Regions from separate parts of the Homo sapiens genome. Here regions 1 and 2 are each linked to region 3. Evidence: promoter capture Hi-C in human tissues and cell types (Jung and others, 2019). All regions are on one chromosome and are shown on one strand. The core of a region is centred on a gene start or on the middle of the fragment in contact, and the rest is flanking DNA. Distances in the headings are between cores, read along the strand shown.

Region 1 (3,541 bases), core at 413-2,912, 230 kb after region 3:
AATATAATCATAATACTACCACTGTGTTTCTGGATTAATTAATCATAATGAATGAAATTTTTCTTGATTCTGTATGCCAAGCCTGGAAGCATAATTCAATTTCATCTTTGACTTCTGTAGCCTGAAGCAACCACTTAAACTCAGCTGTCATAAGGCTTTTGGAGGGAGATCAAAAAACACTAAATAGGAAAAAAAATCCAACTTGCTAAAAGCCATAAACGAAGCAGAAAATATTCTTTTAATATACCAAAAGAAAGGCATCTACATATATATTAAAAGAAGGGCACAATAAAATATTGCTATTTTCCAAATATGATTATAAAATGTGATGACACTGCCTTTCAAAATCTTTGTTTTCTCCTCCCAAACCATCTGAAAATAGTATTAGACATGAGCAAAACACACATTGGAACAGTGAATGGGAACACTGAAAGTCTCCGTGAAAACTAAACTAATTTGGAACCTATCATAACTTGTTTTCAGCTTTAGAACCACTAAATCATTATGAAAACACCTAAGTTACTCTTTTTGAAATCGTATAATGGTAACATGGACTTTCTGTTGTGTTTGTTTCTAATCTAGATCCTATCCCCTTGGGGGCCCTTTATATATGAAGTTGAATTGCTTGTGGTTTAATTTAGAATCTATGACATTCATTGTTTTCATTCACTGTGGAAATAAAGATGACCATAAGGAAAAATATCATTCTTCTGTAATCTTAGCACTCAGAGATATCCCCAGCTAATATTTTGATGTATAGAATTTTATTCTTTGTTCCCTGTTTGTGTGTGTCTAGCATATGTGTAACAAAATGATAAATACACAATGTATCTACCTTTAACAAGATAGCAGAAACATCCTTTCTTGTCATAATGTTCAACTCTCTCTTTTGAATGGTTATATATTTCAATAATTTTCATAGGATCCAAAACTGAGATAGGTCCAGAGCAGCCATATTTATGATATTGATGGACATCTAGCAGAGAAGAGGATACTACAATGGCTTCAGAGATTAGTTCAGTTTGTGCTTGCATTTTGATTGAGAATGTATCTTGACTCTTCAGCATTCTTTGAATGACACCTACACCATCTTAAACTTCATGTTCATTCACTGTGATTACAAGCCGCTGGGCACTAGAAATTAGTAAGACTGGTGTTTCTGGGAAAATGGTTCCTTCCACTCTGAGGATGCTTTTGCTATATCCTCTGATGAGGGTATTTCTGTATTCTTTGCCACTTTGCTGCTGACACAAGTTAGACACGACCTTCATTATGACTCAAAGCATCCACACGATCCCAGGCATCCATTCCATTGTGACATGACAGGAGCCTAGTTATTGAAATGAACATCTTCATGCTTCTTAGTGGCAAAGATCTGGAAAGAGGCAGTAATAAAGCCGCTGACAGTACATGCAAAACATATTGAACAGTCAACACCTTCTATTCACATGCAGAATCATTCCTGGGCGGACTTACTAGGGAAGAGACAAGAGGGAGTGCATGCAAGTTTAAATCTGCAACAAAAGATATGATGCAGAAGGAGATGAGCAAGATGGGATGGGAATAATTATTCAATCAGAGCGATGAAAAAATAACACAAAAGCCACAGGAATCTGTTGAGGTTGAAGGGGAAAAATGTGAAAGAACCAAATGAATTGCTTTACAAGAAAGGGCCACAATTCAGAGATTACAGGTGCTTTGGTGGTAACTGGGGATCCCCAATAAAGCAAATCCACTTAATCTTTGATTAGCACCTCTAACCACAATGAAGCCGTGGTGGATTTGATTTTAGGTTGGATATTCAACTTCAGGACAAGTTTTAGTTTTAAATTTTTACCCAATAAATATTTTTAATAATCATTTTTTAAAAACAGTATTAACCCTGCCCAAACCCATTCTCCACTGATGCTGGCACACAGGGCACCGAATGTAGTAGACATTTACTCATACTTTTTAGAAATGAAAAATAAACATGAGGCTAATCATAGCCACATATGTGTCCAATTTTCCAAGAAAAAAAAATTTCTACTGGTTTATAAATTGGGAGACAACCATTGTGATGACATTTCCCACGCATCAAACCCAGAGTAGCTGTGAACTAATTTATTGTCCATTGATGTTGCAATTTTCAGTATACAGAATCCAGTGGAAATCTGGAACTGATTCCCAGTTATACCCACCTTATGACTCCATGTGAAACTCTAAAACAAGCCCCACACTGAGGACTAGAAAGTCTTTCTTTGCCTCAGAATGAGATTATTTACTTACACTGAGGTTTCAATCTGTTTCCAGCAGAAAATAGCAGCCAATAGCACTTTTACAGGCATTTCTGAGAGACTGCATCCATAACTGAATGGAAAACTTGGGACCCTATTTTACCCCACAGTGAATGCCTGGTAGCAACTCTGGTTCCGTGGTCCCACCAGACTCAGCAACAAGGTCTCCCAACAGAAATGTACTCTGGTCTCATGCATAGTTTCAGGGGCTGCATCTTCCCCATGAATAAACCTACAGGGGGCTCTGTCTTTGGAACATCCAGCCGATTGGACTTTTTATTTGATTTCGGTTGAAATGGAATTTCACTATTTTCAGTTCTGCAAGGACAGGTGCCATAGTATAGGTTTTCCAGCCACAATGGTTGATGTGGGCTGACTTACAATGTACTCATTGTGGTTACACAAGATTTACGTGCCATGCCTTCCTTTTAACATCCCTTTCTCAGCCCATCCTGGGAAAAGAAATGCTTGCTAGATTCTAGATAAGTCACTCTTTACTGTTTCTGTCAGATGTCATTCACTGGGGGACAGTAATGTGCCTTATGGAGATAAGGTGAATTGCCTGTTTCATGGCACGAATCTGAAAGCATCCTTGAATTCAATTCAACAGTCTGACCGCCAGACAGCTCTTGAAATCATGTAAGAGGAAAAGAAAGAATGGGATTCTTATCTGGGAAGTGCCATACTGTAAAACTATAAGCATGATGTGCTGACGGACCGATGGGATGGTAGATTACATTAACACATGAAAAACAGAAACAGATTTGTTAGAGGGAAGGAAAATCACCTTATTCATTAAATTTGCCTACTTTTATGCTTTCTACTTTTTTAATAGAATTTTTTCCACTTTTTTAAAAGAAGTAAATGGTTTTATCCCAAACAAAACTGTAAAACAGTTGAATTGATCTCTGTCATTCACCCTTTATCTACCAAACCACTCTCCCTGATCAGAGAAGCCACTAGTCCACATCATGTTCTCTGTGTCTCTCCAACTTTATCTATCTTCCTCTGAGTTAAACATGACCTGAGGGAAGAATCTGATACCTTCATTCATGCTGGAGGTAGCACTCTACTAGAATGTGAGCTTCACTGGGGCAGAGTTTGGTTTTTTGTCTGTTTTGTTAATTGGCACACCATGAGCAGCTAGAACAGTGCCTGACACATAGTAGATATTCAATAAATACTTGTTTTTGAATGATAAAGCTCAATGCTTTTTCTGACATGAAGGTAAACACACTTTTAAAATTATATGTATTATATGTCCT
Region 2 (3,263 bases), core at 624-3,123, 170 kb after region 3:
AACTAAAAGGAGATCTACCATTTGGTCCACTAATCCCACTACTAGGTATCTACCCAGAGGAAAAGAAGTCATTATATGAAAAAGGTACTTGCACATGCATGTTTATCAGCACAATTTGCAATTGCAAATTGCAATTGCAAAAATTCCCATCAATCAAATAATGGATAAAGAAAATGTCGTATGTGTGAGTATATATATATATGTATACACACACACACACACACACACACACACACACACACGCACATGCACCCCATGGAATTACTGCTCAGCCATAAAAAGGAACTAAATAATGGCATTCACAGCAACCTGGATGGAATTGGAGACTATTATTCTAAGTGAAGTAACTCAGGAATGGAAAACCAAACATTGTATGCTCTCACTCATAAGTGGGAGCTAAACTACAAGGACACAAAGGCATAAGAATGATAGAGTGATCTTTGGGGACTGGTGCGGGGGAAGGGTGGAGGTGGTGAGGGATAAAAGACTACACACATTGAATACAGTGTACACTGCTCAGGTGATGGGTGCACCAAAATCTCAGAAATCACCACTACAGAACTTATTCATGTAACCAAACACCACCTGTTCCCCCAAAACCTATTGAAATAAAAAATAAATTAAAAAACAACAAAATAATAATATAACAGCTTCTTATGCATATGAAGTATATTTAACATTCATTTTAAAATAGAAAGTACTATCATTGTCTTCTTGAAAAGCTCAAATATGAGTTTTTGGCTTTTTTCTGTATTGTTTGCTTCTAAAGAATTATTCATAAATGCTTTAAAGGAATAAACATAGCGTTATTGTGACTCTGCTTGATTAAAAATGCCATTCCCTTTTCCCAAATGTAAAGAGAATGAAGTTAGGATAAATAATCTTTGAGATATTTTACTTCAAATACTTAATGGCTTTAATATATGTCACGATAATACCTCGTTTTTAAAGCAAAGAACCTTTCTTATTTTCTCAGAAGCCTCAAAAGGCAAAGGAAAAATCAGTGTATTGATCCCTACAATGGATTCCAATGTTATTCTAGCTTCAGAAGGTGTCCAGTTACAGAGAAACATTTTAGTAATCATAAGGTTGAGACAGACCTTATGTGACCCTATTCATTCCTGACCAACAAATAGTTTTTGTTTAACTTCGAAATAAACCAGACAAACCCTGCAAGGTTACTTGTAATCATGACACCATTCTTAGAATTGCCATGTGCTGGGAACATGCCTTCTCGCTTCCTCCTTCTATCTACAGTGTAAATCTGAAGGACTTTGTTATGGCTCTTATACTTGGCACATCTTAGGCCTATTTAGAACATCAACACCATCAATCACATAATATGGGGCCGACCAGCTGGATGAACCCTGGCTATCATTCAGGGGTTATTTGTCATCTGGGCATGTCTGTTTGGTATATAACACTCCTTCAGTCCCAGAACAATTTTCCCCCTCCAAAAGTATTCTCTTTGATTCAGGAAACACGTGATTAATAAAGGACAAGGGTTTAAAGCCTGAGGTCAAGGCTAAAAGTCTTAACCAAACAAGTGCATTGCTTACTAACGTTTGCATCAGCAGTTAAAAATTCCCTTGAAGAACTCCCACACCGAAGAAACACACATCTATTCTTAAATGCCATAAATTTCAGGGGACTTCAGCAACTATGATCATCTTGAGAGATTTATTTTAAAATAATGTTGTGCATCAGAAATGTTTTGCTGCAGAATAATAACACTGCATCAAGCATTTAAAAGGCTCAGTACAAACATTTACAATTTAATATAAAAAAATTAGGGTTGAAAAGACACAGTTTAACCAATACGATATGTAAAGGAAATTTGTACTATAACATTAGGACAATTTACATTAAAAATAAATTGTTTTCTAAGATGTCTATTTACACTTAAATGGATTTAAAAGCAACACTCCTTCCCTCATATCCTTTGGCTTATTTATATGCCAATCTACAATACTTTATAGTACTTTTCCATTAGATAGTTTTTATTTTATATTTGTTTCCCTTTCTTTCACCAAAAGAAGCTTGTTTCATGTTCATAGAATATTTTCTTCCTTCTAGGCAACTTATAGTTCCACCCTGTAATAGTATTTGCCTAGTATTTATCTGATATTATGAATTGTTGGATGTATGTATAATGACAGAAAAAAAGCAAATTTTAACAACATACATTTAAAAAGTAATTGTTGGTTAAGGTTTTAAATTGTCCTAACATGACTTAACTGGAACTGACTTCATTTCTTAATCTAAAAAAATTGATTTAATAGTGTTTATTTCATTGGAATTATAAAGGGAGTCACAAACTCCCACTGGAATTCTAAACAGAGTTTCTCAGAAGATGATAAATAGATTGTGTTATAGCACTGATAATGTTGCAAGGCCTAAGGAGCTCATGTCAGTTGTTACTTTATCCAACTTGTAGAGACTTCTAAGTTCCTGAACACAGGCCACTTTAGGTAATCAGATTTGCTAGAGTTCATCTTTCTATACCTCCCACCTCTCTGCCAAATACCAAAGGAATAAAAATAGAAGCTCGGTACAAAACACACTGTATTAAAAATAAGTTGTCATTGAAATTCATACAGGCAATGCATTTATCCTGTAGACTGCATTAGAATCATAGCTTTGCAAGCAAAAAGGGGTTTCCATGTCCTCTGGTCAGATTGCTCATCCTACTGCTGTGGAAATTGAGCCTTTAGGAAGGAACTGGCAGAGGTAAGACTAGAACACTGGTCTCCCATGTCCCTGTCCAGTGTTTCCTGTGTTGAGATATAAAGCCCTCTTATGGCTCAACAGTTAGTGCAGAATCTTCGGGTTAATCTGACTTGCTCTAGCTTGGCCATCTGTTGCTCCACTACTTATGCTAATATGTTAACATTATATACTTGACTGTTGATGGGGCCTTCTTGGCACTATACATGCATAATGCTCCCAGTTAACTCAGTTGACCCTGTTAAACAATGACAATGTGTGTGAGGTCCAAGTTTGTTCACATTCATTTTTACAAAAACAGGGTTACTGACCTTGTCATATTTAACAGTGTTGAGTAGACACAGCAATGTAGATCCTGAGGGCAAATAAAGAATTTCCATTGGTCATGTAAGAACTATGTTAATTAGCTTCCCCCTCCATTCTGCTTCCAGACACTGCATAACTCTATAGTTCAGCTAGAAGGCTCACTGAGCCCTAAACTAATAAAACCCAAGAATTTTTATGAATAATAATTTACAAAATGTATTTGAGCATGC
Region 3 (3,402 bases), core at 91-2,590:
CAGCTTCCCTCCGAGTCACTGAGGAGCACGGGGCGCCCCACGCAAAGTAGGCCACTGCCTGCCCAGCGTGGGCTGGGAAGCAAAACACGCTCCCCAGTTCCGGCCCAGAAATGTCCCCAGCCGGGTCAAACGTGGGTTACAGCCTGGAGGGAAGGAGCAAGGAAAAGGGCGCACAGACCCAGGAGGCTGGAGAGCGCAGTGTGGACTAACTCGTCGAACGAAGCCTGCGCCGGGCCCGGGACTCAGCCCGAACTGCGCGTCGGAAGCTGAGGGTCCGCGGCGGCGGGAAGGGGCCCGGCTGGGAGAGGCCGGCAGGCAGGCGCCAGGCGAGCGGGCGCGCACGGGGCCCGGCCAAGGGCGCGCGGGGCCGCCTGGGGGAGGGGGCCGGCGGAGGCCCGGGCGTCGAGGAAGTGAGCGGGCGGGCGGGGTAGGGGGCAGTCGGGAGGCGGGAGAAGCGAGCTGCCCCAGCGGCCTCTCACCTGTGTCGTCCCCTCGCGTCTGGGCGGCTGCGCTGCTGTTGTGGTAGGACTGGAGGTAAGGGCTGTGCTGCGAGTGGCTCATGTAGGGGTAGGCGGCGAGCGAGCGGTGGTTGTAGGAGTTCCCTCCGCCCGACGCGTAGGGCGAGCCGTGGTGGTGGTGCTGGTGGTGGTGGTGGTGGTGCGAGCCGGCCGCTGCCGCCGCCGCCGCCGAGTGCAGGCAGTGCAGAGGGTAGTGCGCGCCTGCCATGGCCGGGGAGCTCTGCTGCGAGTGCGGCTGCGGCGGCGGCGGCGGCGGCGGCGGCGGCTGTTGCTGTTGCTGCTGCTGCTGCTGCTGCTGTTGCTGCTGCTGCTGCTGCTGCTGCCCGAACTCCATGAAGGCGGATTTGGACGAGTCCTGGCCTTCCAAGCCGTCAGCCATCGTAGTCATGGTCATCATCAAAAACTTTGGGGGCTGGAGAAAGCCTTCTCCCGGGTTTCCTCCACCCTCCCCCACTTGGCTCGCGCCGCTCTCCCCTCTGCAGCCACCTTAGCTCTTTGGATCCTTGCAAAAAAAAAAAAAAAAAAAAAAAAGAATTTAAAGAGGGGGGTGGAGGTGGTTCTCCCTCTCCCTCGCTCTTCTCTAATATATATATATATTTAATATAAAGAGATATAGTGAGCGGGGCCTTGTTAACTCAAAGGGAGGAGGAAGGAGGAGGGATGGGAGAGGAGAGGGGGAGGGGGGAATCTGCTCTCCCCCCGCCTGCTTTCCCCCCTTGGATTTTTTGGGGGCTGGTGCAGTTTAAGGCAGAGATTTTAAGGTGGATTCTGCGAAAGTTGCGCGTCTGCTTTCAGACTTGATGCAGACGCCACGAGTCGAATGGTTTGTCTCCAAAGGGCAGTGCCTCCCCATTGGTCAGTCGCCCCCTGACGTCACAGGCGCACGGCTTCTACTGGCGTGTGCGCGACTTGCAGAGTTCTTCGCCTACCTTCCGCAGTTCCAATCCCAGCCGGAGCTGCAGCCGGGGGCCGCGCTGTGTGGCGCCCGGGGCCGTTGGGGAGGGAGGCGCCTCTGCCCGGCCGGCCGCCGATGCTTCCCGCCGCAGCTCGTGCCCCAAATCCCGGAGCCCCAGTTGCCAATATCTCAGCCTTGAAACAGCCAACTGGGGGCTGCTCTCTTTCAATCCCTTTGCACCCTTGTAGGTTGCCTGTGCTTAGAAGCAGTGACCCCACCCCCGCATTAAATCCAGGCCCCCCTTTCTTGACGTCCCTGCCACTCTGGTCCTACTACACTCTTGTGGGAGCTCCTTGTCACCGTGGATTTTTCTAGACGTATTTTATTGAAACCACAGAAGGAAGACGAACCCTCACACCTGGGCTCCACCCCACTGGGGGGTGGTACAGAAAAAGAAAAATCAGACCCTGTTCTGGCTCGGTCCCTGCCGTTTCAGGCCGTATTTCTTATATATTGTACAAAAGGTTGTGGGGGGGGGGGGCGTCTTTTTTTTCTTTTCAGAACGCAGCAGCGTGTTCTGAAAACGAATCGTTGGAGGACTGACAGTAATGCATTTTTTCCTATTGAAAACAGAAGCTACTGTAATGCTTTCAAATATATGCAAATGATACATGCGGTTAGTGGTTTGGCAAATCTTGATTACAATATAAACTACCCAAGTAAAAGTGCCTTCGTCCTAAATTTGTCTCTCGATTACAATTCCAATTGATTTTATTTTATTGTCAACATTGTTAATGATAAAAATAGAGTCGTTTTACAGTTATTTTTACTTTCTGGAAGGAGGCAATTAGAGTTCTAATCAGGAATACACAAAAATCTCCCATGATTAACTGCAGTACTTTGTTCAAATTGCTGCTATAAAATTCAGAACAATTTGCCTGTAATGATTATGGACTGGGTTTATTTTGGGAGGTGGAATAAAAGTGGATATAGCATAAATTATCCTCTAATTATACACCAGTGTCGCCTCAATTATCCTCTTATCAAAATGGTTGTCTAACTGCCGCATTTAGTTTCAATTCTCTCCTTTTTTTCTATAAAAAGAACTTCATACCTTGTTATTATTAATCCATTTATTATTTGCAAGGGGATTTATATCCGCACATCCAGGTGGTAGAACCACTTCTCTTTCAAAGATGGACTGGGGAAAGACATTAAGTTCGGAGCAGCCCAAGGCTGCGGATCTAGCCTTTCTCCCTCCGGTCTCCAGACCCACGCAGGTTAAGGCAGCCAAGCAGAGACAGCGGAGCCCCGGTGCGTGGTTCAGGCCTGGTCAACAGGTAGGAGGGCCAGACTGGGGGCCAGGCACAGAGGAGGGCAGGCCCGCCCGCACCGGCGTCCAGGGTCCCGGGTTCCGGGTCCCGGGACTGGAGGAGGTCGCCGGCAGCCCGCCCTTCCAGAGGCTTGAGATTGGGTGGACGAGACCTGAAGATCCTCTCGGTCTGGACCCCGACTTTCGATCTGCTTAGAGACCTAAGCCGCGAGCCTTTGCCCACACGGAGAAACGTACTATCTAATATCTAACAACCCTGTACTGCAGTGTCTGGAGGTTGCGGGAAGGAGACAGTGTCTCCCTTTGGGAAAACTACTGAGGACTTCTGTATATCCTACTTCTTCTGGACTCCATAAGTTACAGGACCGAAGGAAACTGAGAAATAGAGAAAAGGTGCCGCTTGCCCCTTTAACTCCAGAAAAGGGTGGCTGCAGATGGAGCAGCTTGGACTTTATTTTTTACGTTGCGCGAAGCCCGCCGGCAGCGGCTTATGCCAATTGATTTTCCCAGCTCCCAGCCCTGGATGTCTAGCTATCTCCAGGACAGTTTGTTTTTTTCTTTTTCTGTCTTTCTTTCTTTCCTTCAATGTATCAGAAGACCTGAAGCTCGCTGCCCGCGAGTTTCCTCCGAGTTCCCAGGTCAGCGGCGTTTGCGCT

The links. Contacts are between HindIII fragments. The study calls those that stand out against the background at their distance.
Region 1: a fragment that was not itself captured here is called in contact with the fragment with the promoter of DLX6 in region 3 in 2 of the 25 tissues and cell types used here (bladder and thymus).
Region 2: a fragment that was not itself captured here is called in contact with the fragment with the promoter of DLX6 in region 3 in 1 of the 25 tissues and cell types used here (thymus).

The regions. Positions count from the first base shown.
Region 1 is chr7:96,770,235-96,773,775 of GRCh38, reverse strand. No RefSeq gene overlaps it. Among named protein-coding and RNA genes, the nearest start is that of SEM1, 62 kb to the right of the region's middle. The HindIII fragment of the contact is 5,784 bases long and covers 1-3,541 here.
Region 2 is chr7:96,832,071-96,835,333 of GRCh38, reverse strand. No RefSeq gene overlaps it. Among named protein-coding and RNA genes, the nearest start is that of SEM1, 120 kb to the right of the region's middle. RefSeq lists an enhancer at 1,155-1,650. The HindIII fragment of the contact is 5,301 bases long and covers 1-3,263 here.
Region 3 is chr7:97,003,491-97,006,892 of GRCh38, reverse strand. DLX6 (distal-less homeobox 6) reads right to left here and starts at 1,340. Exons shown (of 3, transcript NM_005222.4): 1 at 480-1,340. The coding sequence starts at 915. The region is part of intron 1 of DLX6-AS1 (DLX6 antisense RNA 1); the gene reads left to right. RefSeq lists a silencer at 490-589 and an enhancer at 1,902-2,623. The HindIII fragment of the contact is 17,411 bases long and covers 1-3,402 here.